Regions from separate parts of the Homo sapiens genome. Here region 1 is linked to region 2. Evidence: promoter capture Hi-C in 16 types of primary human blood cells and fetal thymus (Javierre and others, 2016). All regions are on one chromosome and are shown on one strand. The core of a region is centred on a gene start or on the middle of the fragment in contact, and the rest is flanking DNA. Distances in the headings are between cores, read along the strand shown. Region 1 holds the start of MAPK8IP2 (mitogen-activated protein kinase 8 interacting protein 2). Region 2 holds the start of SCO2 (synthesis of cytochrome C oxidase 2).

What was found. The method cuts DNA at HindIII sites, captures the fragments that hold promoters and counts their contacts. A CHiCAGO score of 5 or more calls a contact.
Region 1: the fragment with the promoter of MAPK8IP2 here is called in contact with the fragment with the promoter of SCO2 in region 2 in 7 of 17 cell types (neutrophils, M0 macrophages, total CD4 T cells and 4 more); the score reaches 7.4 in neutrophils.

The regions. Positions count from the first base shown.
Region 1 is chr22:50,598,231-50,602,228 of GRCh38, reverse strand. MAPK8IP2 (mitogen-activated protein kinase 8 interacting protein 2) reads right to left here and starts at 1,436. Exons shown (of 12, transcript NM_012324.6): 1 at 1,346-1,436; 2 at 335-440. The coding sequence starts at 1,410. RefSeq lists an enhancer at 557-1,057 and a silencer at 1,847-2,026. The HindIII fragment of the contact is 20,896 bases long and covers 1-3,998 here.
Region 2 is chr22:50,524,348-50,527,212 of GRCh38, reverse strand. SCO2 (synthesis of cytochrome C oxidase 2) reads left to right here and starts at 1,615. Exons shown (of 2, transcript NM_005138.3): 1 at 1,615-1,741; 2 at 2,789-2,865. The coding sequence starts at 2,802. It overlaps NCAPH2 (non-SMC condensin II complex subunit H2), which reads right to left. Exons shown (of 20, transcript NM_152299.4): 20 at 2,433-2,865. It overlaps TYMP (thymidine phosphorylase), which reads left to right. Exons shown (of 10, transcript NM_001953.5): 6 at 1-48; 7 at 475-637; 8 at 737-967; 9 at 1,072-1,212; 10 at 1,295-1,461. The coding sequence ends at 1,443. RefSeq lists enhancers at 1-43, 1-405, 214-513 and silencers at 604-1,433, 1,644-1,943. The HindIII fragment of the contact is 21,491 bases long and covers 1-2,865 here.

The sequences.
Region 1 (3,998 bases), core at 187-2,686, 75 kb before region 2:
GGTTGTGATGGCAGCTGCCAGGGATTAGATCTTTCTGGGAGTGATCTGAGGACAGAGGGCACCCAAAGCAAAGGAGCACCTCCCTGCCCCGGGCTGGCCACCGATGGGGTCGGGGAGAATGCTGGGGAAGGCCCTGCGTGGAGGCCTGCAATGTGTTGGAATAAGAGAGAGTTGATACCAAGGAAACCTCAAGGGTTAAGTGGGGAGGAGCCATCAGAGGAGTCCCCGGTTCAAGGCTGAGCTCACACCCACCCTAAAACCCCAAGTGAACGCTAAGAAGAACCTAATGAGGCCCTCCCTTGAGCTGGATCTGTGTCCCCAACTCTTCTCCCACCTTCTCACAGTGGTCTGAGTCGTAGCTGAGGCCCAGGCCACAGTCATCAGTGATCTCAGACAGATCTTCGTCGTCAAATTCTTCCAGGCTTATGTCCTGGGGAGGCCTGGAAAGGAGACCAGGGTCAGAGAGCCACCAACCCTGGACTCCCTGCCTGGCAACTGGCCCTGAGGAGGGGCAGAGGGAGGCGTCAGCTCCTACACCCAGTGGTTTCCACAGCCCCCAGCTCTCGGAACACATCCTGCCATCATCTTGACCCCCAAGCTCTGCTCGCCTGTGGATCCCCTCCCCCATCTGAGCCAGGCCTGCCCGGAGGAGCCAACCCTGCCCCCACCCCTCCCACCCCGCCTCCCTGGAGAGCCAGCAGCCTCTCCTCCCTCCACTCGCAGCTCCAGGCCCCTGGGGTCAGGGTCTTGCAGAGCAGGGGAGGGGGAGCTGCAACGCGGCAGCGGCAGATGGGGAGGGGTCGCTCCTGCTCTGGGAAGAGAGTCTGGCCTGTTTGTCTCCCCCTCTCCGGCGGAGTGAGGCCTAAACCCAGAGGCCCAGCGTCCTCCCAACCCCAGTCCCTTCCCGCAGGGCTCCGGGCTTGATTTCCACTCTCTCCCGGCCGGGCCCTATCGGCCAGGTCTGGCGTCCACTGAAAGAGGCCAAGGCCACCGGGACACGCCGCGCCGGGAGGGTGTGCCCGCATCCCGCCCGCATCCTCCCCCGCAGAGGGTCGGCCCAGGGCCTCCACCCTTGACAGGTCAGCCGTCCAGGCCGGGCGCGGCTCAGAATCCCGGCGGGGCCCGGGGGTCACTGAGGCTGGGGACGCGCGGTGAAGATGGAGGGAGTGGGAGCGGGGTGGGGGTGGGGCGCCCGAGCCGAGGCTCAGGGACCGCAGGGGGCCGGGGCCGGGTCCGCGCCGGCGGCGGGGCTGGGGCGGCGGGGACGGGGGTCCGGGCCGGGTCGGGGTCGGGGGGGTGCGCAGGGAGCGGAGGGTCCGCCCGGCCCGGGCGCCGAGGGGGGTACCTGCAGCCCGGCGGCGACAGCGAGTGGAAGGTGGAGAGAGAAAACATCTCCGCGCGATCCGCCATCTTCTCCGGGAGAGGCCCGCGACTGCGGCGGGGGGTGCGGGAGCCTCGCCGCGCCCCGCGCCGGCGCTCGGCCCGCCCCGCTCACCTCGTGACACGCCCTGCGGCGTCCGCCCCGCGCACCTCGCCCGGACTCCGCGGCGGCGCGGGGAGGGCGGCGGGGGAGGCGGGGGAGGGACGCGGCCGGGGACGCTGGTTGGAGGAGAGGCGGCGGCTTCACTGCCGGGCGCTGGTTGGGGAAGGGCCGGGCGTGCGATGAGGATTTTTCCCGGGGAGGGGCGGGAGGGAAGGGGCGGGCGGGTGGGCGTCGGGCCCCGCCCTGGAGGACCCGCGCGGGGCGGGAGGCCGAGGAGGCAGCGCCGGGGTCCGCGGGCCTCGGGTTCGCCGTGGGCTGTTTCCTCTGGGCGAGAGGCCGGGGCGGCCCCGGGAGCTGCGCCGCCGCGCCCAGGATCCCCCCAGGAACCCTAACCCGGGTGCGGCCCGGAGCGGGGTGGCGGGCGAGGCGGGAGGCGCGGGAGGAGCTGTCCGCCGTCGGGTGCTGATCGGAGCTGTCCCCACGGGGTGCTGACCGGGGCTGCACGGGGACGTCTGCACGAGGGTCGCCGAGCAGGGCTGGATTCAGAATCGAGCACAAGGTACTCAGAGGATGCTGGCTGGGGCTAAAAGTGGACTTTGAGCACTCAGTAGAGACTGCACAGCCGGACGGACGTACCGACGGGCACTGGGAGAAGTTAGCACCCACGGAGGCGACATGCGTCCCACTGGAAACACTTTTTCTTGGGCACCGTGTTGCTGGGCCCTGTGTAGGGAACTGACCCGCTCTGGCTTGGGATGGAGCCCTGTGGGGAGGGCCATGGTTGAAGCTGAGCTCGAGACGGTGGCTGTGGGAGGAGGCGGGAGATCAGGGTTGAGGGCGCAGAACTAGGGAGAGACTGCAGGACACTTTTTTTCTTTCTAAAATAGAGACCGGTGGCTGGGCGCGGTGGCTCACGCCTGCAATCCCACCACTTTGAGAGGCCAAGGCGGGTGGATCACGACGTCAAGAGATCGAGACCAGAGACCATCCTGGCCAACATGGTGAAACCCCGTCTTTACTAAAAATACAAAAAAATTAGCCGGGCGTGGTGGCGGGCGCCTGTAGTCCCGGCGACTTGGGAGGCTGAGCCAGGAGAATCATTTGAACCCGGGAAGCGGAGGTTGCAGTGAGACGAGATTGCGCCACTGCACTCCAGCCTGGCAAGAGCAAGACTCCGTCTCAAAAAAAAAAAAAGAGAGAGAGAGAGACCGGCTCTCTCTGTATTGCCCAGGTTGGTCTCAAACTCCTGGGCTCAGCTATCCTCTGGCCTCAGCCTCCCAAAGTGCTGGGATTACAGGTGTGAACCACAGCACCTGGCTAAATATTGGCTAAAGAAGGAGGCTGGCATTTCAACAAAAGCGCAATCCCTTTTCCCCCTTGATGAAAGTTATGTGCCCTAAGATTTCTTTATGTCTTAGTTCTGCGGAAAATTCTTTTTTTTTTTTTTTTTTTTTTTTTTTTTTTTTTTTTTGAGACAGAACTTGCTCTGTTGCCCAGGCTGGAGTGTAGTGGCACGATCTCAGCTCACTGTAACCTCCACCTCCCGGGTTCAACCGATTCTCGTGCCTCAGCCTCCCGAGTAGCTGGGATTACAGGCAATCACCACCATGTCCGGCTAATTTTTGTGTTTTTAGTAGAGATGGGTTTTTGCCATGTTGGCCAGGCTGGTCCCAAACTCCTGACCTCAGGTGATCTGCCCTCCTTGGCCTCCCAAAGTGCTGGGATTACAGGCGTGAGCCACCGCCCCTGGCCTGGAAAATTATTCCTTAGGAAAGGACAAGGCACTTGAGTGACAAACACCAGAAACGACATGGCAGAAGGAGCTCATGCAAGTCGGGAAGGGGGGTATCACCATTCCAGCTCAGAGAGAGGCCTGTGGCCAGGGCCTGATTGAACCTGCACTCTTTGGTGTCCCATCACAATTTATATTTTATGCCAATTACAGTATTTTTCTAAGAATGGCATTTACTTGGCTGGGCACAGTGACTTACACCTGTAATCCCAGTACTTTGGGAGGCCAAGGTGGGTGCGTCACTTGAGCTCAAGAGTTTGAAACCAGCCTGGAAACATGTCTCTACCAAAAATAAAAAAAATTGGCCGAGCCCAGGAGGCAAAGGTTGCAGTGAGCTGAGATCACACCACTGCATCCAACCTGGGGGGCAGAGTGAGATCCCATCTCAAAAAAAAAAAAAAAGCCATTTACTAGTTTATGCTTGCCTTCTTGACTTGGGTTGGCTGGAGAGAAGAGAGGCTGTCATCTCTCTGTGAAGCCCTAGGCTCCAAGCATGGTGCCTGGCAAACAGTAGGTGCTTAGCAGACATGTGAATGAATGAATGAGAGAGCTTATGGTCTCTAACCCAGTCTGGGGCATCAGGTCTTTGCCATAACAGTCTTTTCCCTTTTAGAAGCACTAAGAACATTCCCCATTTCTGAGGGAGTCTGGGCCTATTAACCACTCCCTGCCTTTCCCAAAAAATCCAGATCCCTTCCCAGATTTCACAGAGAGTTTGACCTC
Region 2 (2,865 bases), core at 366-2,865:
GCCGTCTTCCCCAACCAGGAGCAGGCCCGGGAGCTGGCAAAGACGCTGGTGAGCGGTGTGGCCTTTCCCTGGGCAAGCGTCTTGATGCGGGCCCAGCCTACCCTTCACCCCTCCCGTCCCCACTGCCTCCCTCCACTCAGCAGTCCTGCCTAACCCCAGTCCCACCCTCTTCTGCCCGAAGTCCCTCCCTCCTTCACGGCTTCCTAACCTGCTGTGACTTTAGAGGTCAAGGCTGGCCCGGCCTGGACCTGGGGAAGCCCTCTGTGGCGTTCCTGCCCCAGACCAAGTACAAGTTCCTCCTGGCCCCATGGCGAGGTGTCGCACTTCACTCGTGTCTCTTCCCCACCCCAATCCTTCCCTGACTTCATGCTGGGGGGCTGGCAACCCAGGGTGCAGCAGGGGCTGGAGTTCGACCAAGAACCGGCTGCAGAAGGCCCCGCCATGGGGGGTCCACGCTGAGCCTCCTCTCCGCAGGTTGGCGTGGGAGCCAGCCTAGGGCTTCGGGTCGCGGCAGCGCTGACCGCCATGGACAAGCCCCTGGGTCGCTGCGTGGGCCACGCCCTGGAGGTGGAGGAGGCGCTGCTCTGCATGGACGGCGCAGGCCCGCCAGACTTAAGGGACCTGGTCACCACGCTCGGTGAGGGGGACGGGGTGTAGGGGAGCGGAGGCGGCGGGGGGTGCTTCCCGCTGGGGCCGCCCCGACCCGGCCGCGCCTAAGACCCGTCCCCGCCCGCAGGGGGCGCCCTGCTCTGGCTCAGCGGACACGCGGGGACTCAGGCCCAGGGCGCTGCCCGGGTGGCCGCGGCGCTGGACGACGGCTCGGCCCTTGGCCGCTTCGAGCGGATGCTGGCGGCGCAGGGCGTGGATCCCGGTCTGGCCCGAGCCCTGTGCTCGGGAAGTCCCGCAGAACGCCGGCAGCTGCTGCCTCGCGCCCGGGAGCAGGAGGAGCTGCTGGCGCCCGCAGATGGTGAGCGTCGGGGGAGTCCCCGTCCTTCCGCCTCCGCCATCCCCTTCCCTTCCCGAGGCCCCGCCCCTTCCCGAGCCCGCGCCTCTCAGCCCCTCTCCCCGCAGGCACCGTGGAGCTGGTCCGGGCGCTGCCGCTGGCGCTGGTGCTGCACGAGCTCGGGGCCGGGCGCAGCCGCGCTGGGGAGCCGCTCCGCCTGGGGGTGGGCGCAGAGCTGCTGGTCGACGTGGGTCAGAGGCTGCGCCGTGGTGAGCGCCGCCCCCGCCCTGCTGGCCCCGCACCCCCGCCCAGCTCCGGCCGCGCGGCCTCTAACAGCCCCTCGCTCTGCAGGGACCCCCTGGCTCCGCGTGCACCGGGACGGCCCCGCGCTCAGCGGCCCGCAGAGCCGCGCCCTGCAGGAGGCGCTCGTACTCTCCGACCGCGCGCCATTCGCCGCCCCCTCGCCCTTCGCAGAGCTCGTTCTGCCGCCGCAGCAATAAAGCTCCTTTGCCGCGAAACCTTGTCAGTGCTTGGGCGGGAGCGGAAGGATCCAGGGCTGCGGAGGCGGGGGCCGTCTCGATGAACACGTGACCCCCGGCGGGCTCCGCCTTCCGCGCACGCGCTGAGAGCCTGTCAGCGGCTGCGCCCGTGTGCGCATGCGCAGCTCCGGGGACGCCTGCGCCCTGCCTGTGAGCGTGTGGCGCCCGCTTTCCCTGAGCCGGCGGGGCAGAGCGCAGGGAGCTGGAGGTCGGCGCTTCCTCTCGTGCTTGGTCCACTGACGCGCGGCCCCGCCGCGAGGTGCGGACGCCGGGGCTGGGAGGGGAGGAGGTAGCCCTGAGGACTCGCTGGACTCCGGGGTAGTTTCCCAGCTCCGGCTACTGCGCGGGGCTGGCGGGGCACACCCCAGGGCGCGCTGGAGGCCGGAGCGAGGCTGGGGCGCCCGTGGGAGGCTCCCAGCAGGCACCGGTGTTCTCGCGGCCAAGCACAGTTATAACGCGCTCGCGCGGCGCTTCGAGTGGTCCTGGAACCTTTCTGGCCACGAGGGCGCTGGCCTTGCTGGGGAGGGCACAAACCCAGAACCGCCCGGGCGGGGGTGCAGTGAGTCCTCGGGAGGGTGCCCTCAGCAGGAGGGGGCAGTGACCGGGAGTCCTGAGACCTCCACCTAGCAAACCTTCTGCGGGGGCCCGTGGGAAAGGCTCAAAGGTCACCAACGCAAAGGCAGGGCGTCGGCTGTGAGCCCGGAGGAGCTGCTGGGAAGCCTGGATGTGAGGAGGGTGGGGTTTTGTGGCGGGTGGAAGTGTCGTGCGTCTCTGCCAGGAGAGGTTAAACACAGCCGGCGGGCAGAGTCTGAGCTCCGGGGGTAGGTCGTGCAGGTTTTCTGCTGGGAGTGTGGAGGAAGGCCGCGGTTGGTTGAAGTGGCTGGAGGTAACAGGAAAGTGTTGGAGGAATCGGTTGCTCTCGGGGATTGCAAGCCAGAGAGTTACCCACCTCCTTTTAAGAAATGGGTTTATTGCAAATAGATAACGTGGTTAGTTCAGGCAAGGCATGCACTTGGAATGCTTTCCGTCAGCAAGAGGTTCACCTTGCTGAGGTGCAGGTGCAGGGCAGGGTGCGGTGACAGGCTGGTGATCCCAGGTAGAGGACAGGAGTGACAGGTGTGGTTGCCCAGGTGTGGATGTTTGGTGGAGGTGGAGTTCTGAGCTCAGGTGAGCAGCTGCAAATGCCTGTTAAGCCTGAACGTGGGCTGGGTCCTTCAGATGGGTGGCTGGTCTCAAGTCGCAGGGGCAGCCCAGGCACTGTCCTGGGCCTTCCCTTCTGGCTCCTGACGCCTGTGCTTGTTTCCAGGAGCATCAGATCCATGCTGCTGCTGACTCGGAGCCCCACAGCTTGGCACAGGCTCTCTCAGCTCAAGCCTCGGGTCC